Regions from separate parts of the Homo sapiens genome. Here region 1 is linked to region 2. Evidence: promoter capture Hi-C in 16 types of primary human blood cells and fetal thymus (Javierre and others, 2016). All regions are on one chromosome and are shown on one strand. Each heading gives the region's core, a stretch centred on a gene start or on the middle of the fragment in contact. The rest is flanking DNA. Distances are from core to core; before and after follow the strand shown. Region 1 holds the start of TTC9B (tetratricopeptide repeat domain 9B). Region 2 holds the start of CEACAM3 (CEA cell adhesion molecule 3).

Region 1 (6,539 bases), core at 2,126-4,625, 1.6 Mb before region 2:
CCCAGGCCCTGTTCCCAGCCCGCCGCCGGCCCCCTGAGTTCCCAGGCCGCCCCACCACCCTGACCTTTGCCCCGAGACCTCGGCCGGCTGCCAGTCGCCCCCGCTTGGACCCCTGGAAACTGGTCTCCTTCGGCCGGACACTCACCATCTCGCCTCCCAGCAGGCCAGACACTCCGGAGAGCCCTGGGCCCCCCAGCGTGCAGCCCACACTGCTGGACATGGACATGGAGGGGCAGAACCAAGACAGCACAGTGCCCCTGTGCGGGGCCCACGGCTCCCACTAAGGCCTGCCCACCACCGCCCGCCTGGGCAGCCATGAATGTAGCGCCCCAGGCCCTGCCCCAGCCCGCCATGCCACAAGGTGGGGGAGGCCCTGGGCAGGATGTTCACTCTATTTATTGGGGAAGGAGGGAGGGGGGGGACACTTAACTTATTCCTTTGTACCCCAGGGGGTGGAGCCCTGTGCCCACCCTGCACTGGGGGGAGGGTGGGCAGGGATACTCAGGGACAGGGCATCATGGGGGATTTGGCACAAAATGGAGCATTAAAGGTAACCCCTGCCCCCTACCGCACTTGATTGTGTTCCTTTTTCCTTTTTTTTTTTTTTTTTTTTTTGGAGACAGAGTCTTGCTCTGTTGCCCAGGCTGGAGTGCAGTGGCACCATCTCAGCTCACTGCAACCTCCGCCTCCTGGGTTCAAGTGATTCTTCTGCCTCAGCCTCATGAGTAGCTGGGACTACAGGCTCCCGCCACCACACCCAGATAATTTTTGTATTTTTGGTAGAGACAGGGTTTCACCATGTCGACCAGGCTGCTCTCAAACTCCTGACCTCAAGTGATCCACCCATCTCGGCCTCCCAAAATGCTGGGATTACAGGCGTGAGCCACTGCGCCTGGCCTAGACTGTTTCTTTCCCTGGCCCAGGCCCTGATGCTGGGTCATCCCAGTGGAACATTCCCCCCGACCCCACACACCCTCCCTGGGCTTCTCTGGGTTTCTAAGGTCCAAGGGATGAGGCCCTCCCTGGTCCCCCCAAGAACACCACACAAGTTATGATCACCAGTGACAAGTGTTTTACCAACAAACACATGAGTCGGGGGAAGTTACATGGTGAGGTGGGAGGGCGAGGGATAGAGAGGTCCCCCTGGATTGGCCTCAGCCAATTACATCCCGAGTCTGGGACCCAGCCCCACTGTCTTCCCGCTGGAGGCTGCAACGATTCATCTTCAGCTGAGTCAGCTGGATGTAGCGGAGCACATTGGTGTCTGCAGGGGAGGTGGGCAGGGCATCATCTGGGTGTCCCGGGGCAGCAGGTGACTTCCACACCTCCCTGGCTCACACCCCATTCTCCGAAGTATCCAGCAGCTCGCTCACACAGCCAGTAGAGCCAGAGCCCTTCCCCAAAGCCCCAGTCACAGTCGGCAGTCCCCAGTCACAGCGGAGCCATCGCACACCTCTGTGCGCCTGTATTTGCGGCACCCTCTGCCAGGAATGCCTCTTCGCAGAGGCTCCCGTCACACTTCTCATCCTCCAGCGACATCTGCAAGAAGTCTGTTCTCTCCGAGCCACTTAACAGGAAAACTAATCTCGTCTCGGCTCCCACAACCCTGCACCTGTTGTAATCCCTCTTCCTTCTTCATTGGCTCTTAATACAAAACTGAGTGTTGTGTCTGCCCTCCTGCACTCATGTGTGTAAGTGCACACATGCACGCACACACACACACACCCCAATTTCCTGGCATCGTCCACCCGAGTGGATGAGTGGATGGTGCAGGAAGTGAATGAATAGGTGTGCGTGAATGGGTGAGTGGAGGAATGAGTGTGTGCGGTAGGCAGGGGTGGGACGGGGTAATGGAGATGACAGTGGGTGGATAGGGAAGTGACTGAGCAGGTGAATAGGAGATATCAGATGTGGCAATGACGGTAGATGAGAAATGGCCGGGGAGATGTCAGAGGAGCGATAGGTGGACGGATGTTTGAATGGCGGGTGAAGGGCGGGGTGGATGAATGGATGAGTGGGCGTGTAGGGAGTAGGTGGGTGGCGCAGCCCTACCTAGAAGCAGCTCCGCGGGAGGAGGGCTCTGCTATTCTGCCCTGATCTTCCTGCCTGTTCCCTCCGCTGCAGCCCCTTTCCCCGCCCTGGGCCCAGCCCTCACCTCTGCCCCGCCCCGCCACTCACCTGTGGGTTCCCGGCTGCGGGCCTCCTGCAGGTAGCGCAGCGCGCGTGCGTAGTCGCCCAGGTGGTAGAAGGCAATGCCGGCACGGTAGGTGGCCTTGAAGTTGCCCTGCTGCTTCTCCAGTACCTTGAGACAGTACTCGCGCACGCGCTCGTAGTTTACCAGCTCCGACTGCAGCAGGCAAGCTGCGAGGGCCCCGCGGCCGGCACTCTCAGAGCCTGCTGGCACCCCCAGAACCCACCTGACTGCGAGGAGCCGAGGCTCCAGGCGGCAGGGAACCAGGCCTAAGGGATTGCTCCGGCAACCAGGGGCGCCAATCCGCTCGCCTATCGAAACAGGCGCAACTGCGCCGCTGCTAGGGGGCGCCAAAACACGGACAGGCGCCACTGGGCGATCCACCCAGAGCTGTCGGTGGGCAAGAGCACTAAGGCCCCGCGCGGGGGCGAGGGCCGGGACCTCGAGAGCCTGGCTCAGGGCAGACTTCCTCACCTTGGGTCCACGTGCGGCCAGGGGGTGGAAAGAATGACTCAGGGGAAGCGAGGCCCTGAATACCCGACCCAAAGACCATTTCCTGCATCCCAGCTCCCTCCAGCCACAGACCCCTGTCATCCCCTACCCCTAATCCCTTTCCTTGATCAAGCTCTGAAGGCTCCCCCAGAAGCCCACAGCCCTGGACCCTTCAGCCCCAGGGCCCCTGGCCCCCAAGTCGCCAAGCTCTCCCGATTGCCCCCTCCCCTCGTGCCCCATCCCCCCACCCCCCGACGGCGTACCCGTGAGGGAGTCGTAACACTCCACCTCCGTGCTCTCCACCAGGCGCCGCTGCTCCTCGCTGAGGCGCGCCGGCCCGGGGCTGCTGGTGGGCCCGGGGGCGGGGGCGGGCAGGCCGCTAGGGCGGGCCCCCTGCGCCGCCTTCAGCTGCAGCAGCGCTCGGTGGTACTTGCCGATGGCCTCCCGGAACTTCTTCTCTCGATAGCAGCGCTGGCCCTCTGCCTTGAACGCCACGGCGGCACGCAGGCTGCTGTCGAGCGCCGCGCCCAGGCTCCCCGACGGCTCTGGGGTAGGACCGGGACGAGCCGAGCCATGGCGGGAGCCCGAGCCTGGGCCCGAGCCCGGTGGGGAGAGGGCGGGAGGCGGGCGCGGCGGAGGCTCCGGGGCAGCGCTGAGCATCAGCACCGGGGACAGCGCGCCGCGCTGCATTGTGGGAAACTCCTGCCGCCGCCGCTGCAGCTACCGCATCGCCCCCCGCGGGGCTGGTCCCCACCCTTTCTCCGCCCCCTCACCTCCGGCAGCCGACTCCGGCTGCCCCCTATGGGTCTAGGGAAACCCCTCGAGACTTCCCCCATGCTCACTCTCAAATTAACCAAGTCCTAGTTCTCCAGCCCGCCCCCCGAATTGTTCCCATTCCCCTTACCCTCCCCAACCTCCTGCCTGCTCTCCTCCCCGGTGCCCAAAGCTCCCGAAGATTTCTAGAAGGAAAGGACGAGCCTGGGGGAAAGAGCAGGAAGACATCAGCCTCACGGAAAGCTGGCTCTCAGCCCACTGGCCATTTGGCATATCGAATGAGAACACAGGATTTGGACCCAAGCTTCCCAAATTCAAATCCCTGCTTACTTTCTCACTAGTGGTATGACTTAGACAGCTCGCTTAAACTACCTGGAACTCTGTATCCTCATCAGTAACATGGCACAATAATATCACCTTTAGGGCCAGTCGAGGTGGCTCACGCCTGTAATCCCAGCACTTTGGGAGGTCGAGGTGGATGGATCGCTTGAGGTCAGAAGTTTGAGACCAGCCTGGCCAATATGGCAAAACTCCGTCTCTACTAATATACAATATATACAAAATTTTTGTATATATACACAAAAATTAGCCTGGTGTGGTGGCGTGCACCTGTAGTCCCAGCTACTCGGGAGACTGAGGCAGGAGAATCACTTGAACCTGGGAGGCAGAGGTTGCAGTGAGCCGAGATTGTGCCACTGCACTCCAGCCTGGGTGACAGAGGGAGATGCCGTCTCAAAAAAGGAAAGGAAAGGAAAGGAAAGGAAAGGAAAGGAAAGGAAAGGAAAGGAAAGGAAAGGAAAGGAAAGGGGAAAGGGGAAAGAGGAAAGAGAAAAAAGGAAAGGAAAGGAATTAAAAATAATACCACCTTTGGGATTCATCTGTTAATTTATGAAACAAATATTCACTGACATCCTTTCTGTGCCCAGCTCTGTGCTGGATGATGCTGGGACATAGCAGACACTGCGTGAGCTTCAGACCCTACTCTCACTGGGCCCCAGTTCAGTGGGAAGACAGACCAGTGACCAGACAGTGACAGCCCTGAGCAGGCTAGCCTGGGAAGCACAGGCAGAGGGGTCGGGGCCGAGGTGGAAGAGGCACAGGCAGAGGGGTCGGGGCTGGGATGTGGGAGGTACCTGCCCTGGGCTGAGGTGGTGATAAAGTCTTCCTGGAGGAGGGAATAACTCTAAAAACAAGAGAGATCTCCTTCTTGCCCTCATCCAGCTCGGCTGTCTATGGGGGAAAACAAGTGAGAGGGCAAACAAGTCCCCAGGAAAGGAAGCATGCAGGAGGCTTTCAAGAAAAAAATCGAGGATGAATGAGTCAACTGCCCTTCAGTCCTCCTTTGCCGCCTCCTTAGCTGTGGGACCTGGGCCAAGTTCCTCGATCCTCCTCCTTCGGCTTCGTCTGTGCGACATGAGGATAGAAGGCAAGTTAACCTCAGAGCGGTTGCAGAGACTGAATTATCTTATGCAGGTAAGGCACTTAGCACAGGGCTTCATACATTAATGGGCAATTAACAACTGGTGTTTCTTATCGTCCATTAGACTCTGAGTCATGTGATCATGAGTGCCTGGCTCTGAGTCAGCATCCATATATAGTTGTTGAATGAATGAGTGTGTGAGTGAATGGCATTATGCATTACTACTCCTCCCCCTCCTCTGAGACTCTAGCTTGGGTCTCAGCCCCAGGCCTCCCCACTCTCCCCAACTCCACCCCCACAGCACATCCTCTAGCTGGAGGTCCCATGGCAGGTCACATGTGACAGACAGAAACCAGAACTCAGCACCTTCCATCTCAACCAGAGCATCTGCCTCTATCTCTTATTGTACTTTGCTGTAAAACGCTTTTGCTGAGTGAGTTTCTCCCTTATCCCTGGGGTCCAGCCTTGAACACCTCAGGGGTGCAAACATTTTCCTCTCTGCATCTCCAAACCCAGGCTCAGTTAGGAGTGTAAAACTCATGAATTTGAGTTCTTGAGCAGTGCACACACCTTTCCCTACCTCCGGTGTGTCTGTTTTGTAATGAAAAACACAGAGATCTGGCTGGGCGCAGTGACTCACACCTGTAATCCCAGGACTTTGGAAGGCCGGGGCAAGTGGATCACCTGAATTCAGGAGTTCGAGACCAGCCTGGGCAACATGGCAAAACCTTGTCTCTACCAAAAATACAAAAAATTAGCCAGGGGTGGTGGCGTGCACCACTTGGAAGGCTGAGGCGGGAGGATTGCTTGAACCCAAGAGGTGGAAGTTGCAGTGAGCTGAGATCACACCACTGCACTCCAACCTGAATGATGACAGAGTGAGACCCTGTCTCAAAAAAAAAAATAAAAAAAAAAGGAGATCCGTTGATTCATAACCATGTTTTCTGACGAAGTAAATGCCTAGGTACCCAGGCACAGTAGCACAGGACAACTGTACCTAAAATCACAGTCCTGCTGGGATGCAATGCTAACACTTTTACAACACCTCCTAGGTGTCAGACATTGTCATAAAGAGCTTTCCCTTTTATTTATTTTTTATTATTTATTTTGAGATGGAGTCTTGCACTGTCGCCGGGGCTGGAGTGCAATGACGTGACCTCGGCTCACGGCAACATCCACCTTCCGGGTTCAAGCGATTTTCTTGCATCAGCCTCCTGAGTAGCTCGGATTATAGAAGCCCGCCACCACACCCAGCTAATTTGTTGCATTTTTAGTAGAGACGGGGTTTCACTATGTTGACCAGGCCGGTCCCAAACTCCTGACCTCGTGATCCGCCCGCCTCGGTCTCCCAGAGTGCTGGGATTATAGACTTGAGCCATCGCACCTGGCTGCTTTACGTATATTTTAACTCACATCCTCACCACAGTGTCAGGAGGTTGGTACCATAATTATCCCCACTGACACCTGGGCACTTCCCAGGTTAAGTATATCAGACCCCATTGATAAAACTCTTACTATCCAGGACTTACTACTACAAACTGATGACCTTCGCAGAGCATCTTCCAGGCTTGGGAGAACCTATCTTCATAGCCCAGTATATGTGATGTGTTGGGCTTGTACAACCATTAAGAAATATTGAATTAGGCCGGGTACGGTGGCTCA
Region 2 (6,039 bases), core at 909-3,408:
TGCATTTTGGGCAAGATTAGCACAGAAGCGATGTGTCTTTCTCAGGACATCCCAGCCGGAGCCCCAGGATGTCTATATCTCTCATTACCGATGAGGTTCACTTTAAGCGCTTGGTTCAGGTGGTGTCTGCCAGGTTTCTCTACTGTGAAGTTACTATTCATCTCATTGTAATTAATAAGTATCTTGTGGACAGGTACTTTGGAAATATGCAAATAGCCAGTTTGTTCTTAGCATACTTTTACCAATTAATTTCTAGAATCCAGAGATAATTGTAGCCGATAAACAATTCTTACTGTGGTGTTAGCCAGTGATTTTCTGCTTCCATCATTGCTTCTACACTGATTAACTGGAACGCTGCTGTAAGAAAGAGCTAGTTCTTCTTTCTCATTTATTTATGTATTCACTTATTTATATATATATCAGCATGGACTCTCAAGTATTTATCGGTTGGACTACATTACTATTATTATTGATTATGTTGCTATATTGTCCCCAAATTGGCCATTGGGAGCTTCTTCTAGTTGGCATTTGTGATACTTTCCACACATCCCCATCATTTTTCAAGTTGTGCCTTACTCTCAGGCCCCGCAAGATGCTCCAGTCTCCTCTTGTGGTTTCCTGCCCCAGCCCTGGAATCAGCCATTTCTCCAGGGAACCCTGGTTCCTTTCATGGGAGAATGATGTTTACAGACCATGGGCGCCCATATGCCCATTGCTAGTAGGTGCCGGTGCTTCTATGCCCTCTAGTGGTCAGAGCTGGGAAATAACACACCCACACTAGTGTACTGTTACCCACATTTCACAAATTAGGTAAATGAGGCACAGAAAAGTTAGGCAACTTGACCAACATCACAGAGAAAATAGGTAGTGGAACTGGGAAATGAAAATAATGACAGATGCACCACAAGTTCTAACAAGCAAAAGTAGCTTTTTCACACATCCACATCAGCAGAAAGCCACAAGCCCAATATTCCGGCGTAGACACTCTTTGAAAACCAGAATTCCACAGCAATAACCACGATGACAACCACCATGTACTCAACACCCGCCTGGGCACGGGGCTCCCACAGCAGCTCACTTATTCCCAACAACTCTGCAAGGAGGATTTTACCATCCTCCTTTTACAAATCAGGGAATCAAGGATCATAGAAGCCACGTGACTTGTCCAAGTCAACATAGTTAAGTGACAGAACCATTAGCTGTCCCCAGGTACATCTGGACATAAAGTTCATGTTTATGCCACTGTGTCAGCATTTCCAAAAACTGATTTTAGGCGAAACGTAAGTAAGCTTTTTAAAAACTTTAATACTTATGCGTTTATTTTAATATACATTGAGAAAACATTTAAGCACACATCAAATCTGTAATTTCATGGACAATATTGCATAAGACAAGGATGTTTTGTCTCCAACTCCTGGCCTCAAGCCATCCTCCCACCATAGCCTCTCGAGTAGCTGGGATCACAGATCTGAGCCACCGATCCCTGCTAGGACAGGATGTTTTGTAAACTAAATTTATTTAGAAAAAAGGATGAAATATATAATAATAAAGGTGGTACAAGCTAGAGAGAAAATCATAAAGTCAGCCTAGAAATGTCTGGTGTCTGGATGACATAAAGCTACAGCACTGTGAAGCCTCATTCTCAGTTACTCCCAGGAAATTAGAGTCACATAATGCTGCAGAAAGAACAGCTCAGAATCTTAGATCCGGGCTTTAGCCCTAGATATATCCATTTGTAGGACCCCAGACATCTCTGTGACCTCCTTGCTGGGAGTAAATCCAACCTTCCCAGACATGTGAGAACAGTAAGAAGACCCTGCACACACAAAGGAGTTTCTCCGTCACAGAGAAAATAACACCAGGTTCAGGGACCCCAGGGACTCTGCATGGTGCTGACAGACCCAAGGCCAAGGCAGAGCAGAGGTCCACGCTGGGGAGGGAGGGTCATCCTGTTATGAAACAGGGATCCAAGTAAGCCTTGCTTCTCAGAGCCTGGTCTGGGGAACTCAAATGTAGACAGAAGGGAGAAAGGAAGAAGAGAAAATGAGGCAAAACTGAGAGGGGAGGGGACAGAGAGGTGACCTGGGCAGAGCTTCACCCATGACCCTGGAAAGTGCTCCTGCCCTGGGAGGAGGCTCAGCATGGAAAGAGGAAGGACAGCAGAGCCTAAGTCACAGTAGCCCTGACTACAGCATTCCTGGAGCCCAGGCTCTTTTCCACAGAGGAGGAAAGAGCAGGCAGCAGAGACCATGGGGCCCCCCTCAGCCTCTCCCCACAGAGAATGCATCCCCTGGCAGGGGCTTCTGCTCACAGGTGAGTGGAGGATTCCTGGGAGTGGGCAAGAGGAGGGATCACAGAGAATGGCTGGGGTCTCCTGGGGAGGATGGGGCTCTGATAGGGGACAGAAGGCTTCTGCTGAAGCCTCAGGGGAGAGAACATCAGAGAGGGACACGGGTCACAACAAGACAATCACATTGAACTGGGATTGATAAGAGGGAGGAAAATCCATTGATCATGTTTTCCAAGTTAATCATTACTGGCCACTACAATTAGAAAATGATAAGAATAAGAATTACATCAGGGTGATACTTTAAATAAAAATATAACCAGGGCACTAAAACCTGTCTTTGACCACCAACCACAAGTTGCAAAATAACCACCACTCCTTAACTCATCCACCAGTATTTGCAATCAAATTTTAGGCACTGGCGTACAACAAATATCAGACAAGTCTCTGTGTTCAAAGAGCTTACACTCTTGCAGAGATGAAGATAGACACCCAAAGAGATCTAGAATGTGAGTTCAGGTGTTGACAAGAGCCCTGGAGGGAACAGAGCAGAAAAAGGTCAGAAAGGGAAGACCCAGGGTCTCTAGAGGAGGTGTCAGGGGAGGGATCTCCCAAGGATGCCCTGATGTGAGCAGGATCTGAGGGCAGTGGGGAGGGAGCCATGCAGACCCCTGGGGAAGGGGATTCCACACAGGAAAATGCCAAGGTTAGAGGTGCTGAAGAAAGAAAGGTCACGTTACTGACCTTGACCAAGTGGGACACACATACACTCTCCAAGGCTGAAGGGTGAAGAGACTCTCTCAGGACCCAGGGCCCCATCTTTCCATCCCAATACATGGGTCCCAATATTGACTGATGCTTTCTCCCTCCTAGCCTCACTTCTAAACTTCTGGAACCCGCCCACCACTGCCAAGCTCACTATTGAATCCATGCCGCTCAGTGTCGCAGAGGGGAAGGAGGTGCTTCTACTTGTCCACAATCTGCCCCAGCATCTTTTTGGCTACAGCTGGTACAAAGGGGAAAGAGTGGATGGCAACAGTCTAATTGTAGGATATGTAATAGGAACTCAACAAGCTACCCCAGGGGCCGCATACAGCGGTCGAGAGACAATATACACCAATGCATCCCTGCTGATCCAGAATGTCACCCAGAATGACATAGGATTCTACACCCTACAAGTCATAAAGTCAGATCTTGTGAATGAAGAAGCAACTGGACAGTTCCATGTATACCGTGAGTATTTCCACATGACCTCTGGGTGTTGGGGGTCAGTTCTACTTCCCACATATGGGATTGTCAGGCCTGGGCTGTGCCTGTGGCCCTCTCTGCATTACATTCTGTATCAGGGTTTGGACATTTAGTGCAGGACACACACGGGGGAGACAAACTTCCACAGATCAGAATTCCTTTCCTGCATCCAGACCCTGCAGACACTCGCTGCAGAGGAAGGACAGTCTGATGGGGGGACTCAGCAGGGCAAGGTCAGTGTCAGAAAAGAACCCCATGGTCTCCCCATGGACCTGACCCTAAGAAAGACCCTGGAGAACTGGATCAGGGCCTGGCCTGAGGGGTCCCCCTAGGATTCTCAGAGAGAAGCTCAACTCTTCCCAGAACTGAGCCCCTGTGCAAATCCCTGTCCCAGATTCCTGACTCCAGGTGACCCTGGGGACCCTAGGGATCCTGTGCCAGGGCTGAGTGAGGCCTCCTGGGCAGGGCTGACTGGGAGCAAGAATTTACCAGCTGTCTGAGGGTCGTGGCTCCTGGAGTTGGTCACCAGCCAGGGTCCAGCCCCAAGAACCTCTCCTGGGCAAGGACAGGGCCTCATCCTTTACCTGAGACTCAGCATGGAGTGAACAGATGGACAAGATTACTAGGGCATGAGCCCACTGCCCAGGGGAACTTAGATGACTCCATGGGAAGTTCAGTATCCCCAGGGGGAGGAAAAAGAAGAGAGAAGATGCTCCCAGCAGCTCCTTTTCCACAAGGGATCAGACTCAGGGACCTCTCTTTTGGAGGCAAATAAGCATAGATGCTGTTCCTTTGGGCAGCTCCTCTATACACAGCTGAGGTCAAGTAATTGTAAATATTTTGAGATTAATTCACAAACAACGTCACAGCCAAATAGCACTTATCCTACTTATTGAAAAAAAAAATTGAGGAACAGGGAGACAGTCACCGACTAGGGTCACACAAGTCAAAGGTGTCAGATTAGAGTCACACGAGGTCTCTCTGCAGCCACAGCTGCCTCTTCTCCACCAGGGGACGGCTGGCGTTATTATTAGACATCTGCAGGCCTGAGACCAGTCCTAAGTTCTCTTTCCTTTTTCTTGGGCATCCACATCTCAGAGGGGGAGATTTTGGTCTGGAGAGTAAGGGGCAAATGGAAAATTAATCAATTTTTCCTGATATAGTTTGGATGTTTATCCTCTCCAAATCTCATGTTGAAATGTGATCCCCAACATTGGAGGTGAGGCCTGGTGGGAGGCGATTGGATCATGGGGGGCTGTTTCTCATGAGTGGCTCAGCACCATCCCCTTGGTGACAAGTCAGTTCTCACTTTGAGTGCACAGGAGATCTGGTTCTTTAAAAGTGTGTGGCGCCTCCACACTCTCTCTTGCTCCTGCTTTTGCCACATGACACCACCTGCTCCCCCTTCTCCTTCCACCATGATTGTAAGCTTGCTGGGTCTCACCAGAAGCCGAGCAGACGCTGGTGCCATGCCTGTATAGCCTGCAGATCCCTGCATCAATTAAATCTCTTTTCTTTATAAATTACCCAGCCTCAGACATTTCCTTATAGTAACAAAAAATAGCCTAACACATTAGCCTAACCTAGAACTAAATCCCTTGTGTCAACAGAGTCAGTGCCAGGAATGTCCGGGCCTCCCTCTCAGATGCGCACCACTGCCCTCACTCGACCTGAAATCCTGTGTTTCCTGATGTGTCAGTGACACTCCCACAGGAGGATAAAACACTCCCCACTCACACCCTGCACCAGCGCAGGGCCCAGTGAGAGACACACACTCAGTAGTTCTCTGACGAAGGAGGGAAGGAATGAATGATGAATAATTCTTAAACTCTTCAGAGACCGGATCTTGGATGCAGAATCCTATAAGGTTCTGGCCACACCTGTTTCCTGTCCCTCCAGGGGCCGGGATCCTTGTTGCATTCCTCTAACCCCTGCCCCTAAAGCTACCCCAAGAACCGCATCTCATGGGACTCTGGCACAGCTCACCTGTGGGAAGGTTTTCAGGTCTCCCTGGTCCTGGTTTGTGGGCGGCAGGTCACCCAGGCGCCGAGGCAAGAGACCAAGGACACGAGCTGTTCCAGTATAATAAAATATAAAACAAGAAAAGTTATACCAGATATAGATCTTAGATATGATTATATGTGAATATCATTAATCATTAGTTGGTAGCAATTACTCTTTATTCCAGTATTATAATAATCCTCGCTCTATAATCACAACCTAGGAAAAGCCAGGCCATACAGAGATAGGAGCTGGGGAGACATAGTGAGAAGTGACCAGAAGACAAGAGTGCGAGCCTTCTGTTATGCCCAGACAGGGCCACCAGAAGGGCTCCTTGGTCTAGCGGTGACACTAGCGCCTGGGAAGACGCCCGTTGCCAGGCAGACCGAGGTCTAGCGGTAGCGTAAGTGTCAAGGGAAAACACCCGCTACTTGGCAGACCGGGAAAGGGAGTCTCCCTTTCCCCGGGAGAGTTTAGAGAAGACTTTGCTCCTCCACCTCTTG

Evidence for each region. The method cuts DNA at HindIII sites, captures the fragments that hold promoters and counts their contacts. A CHiCAGO score of 5 or more calls a contact.
Region 1: the fragment with the promoter of TTC9B here is called in contact with the fragment with the promoter of CEACAM3 in region 2 in 1 of 17 cell types (total B cells); the score reaches 5.8 in total B cells.

The regions. Positions count from the first base shown.
Region 1 is chr19:40,215,009-40,221,547 of GRCh38, forward strand. It overlaps TTC9B (tetratricopeptide repeat domain 9B), which reads right to left and starts at 3,376. Exons shown (of 3, transcript NM_152479.6): 1 at 2,947-3,376; 2 at 2,179-2,361; 3 at 1,050-1,264. The coding sequence starts at 3,373. The coding sequence ends at 1,155. MAP3K10 (mitogen-activated protein kinase kinase kinase 10) reads left to right here. Exons shown (of 10, transcript NM_002446.4): 10 at 1-567. The coding sequence ends at 284. RefSeq lists enhancers at 2,244-2,834, 4,413-5,612. The HindIII fragment of the contact is 9,686 bases long and covers 1-3,759 here.
Region 2 is chr19:41,794,429-41,800,467 of GRCh38, forward strand. It overlaps CEACAM3 (CEA cell adhesion molecule 3), which reads left to right and starts at 2,159. Exons shown (of 7, transcript NM_001815.5): 1 at 2,159-2,313; 2 at 3,161-3,520. The coding sequence starts at 2,250. The HindIII fragment of the contact is 3,675 bases long and covers 1,288-4,962 here.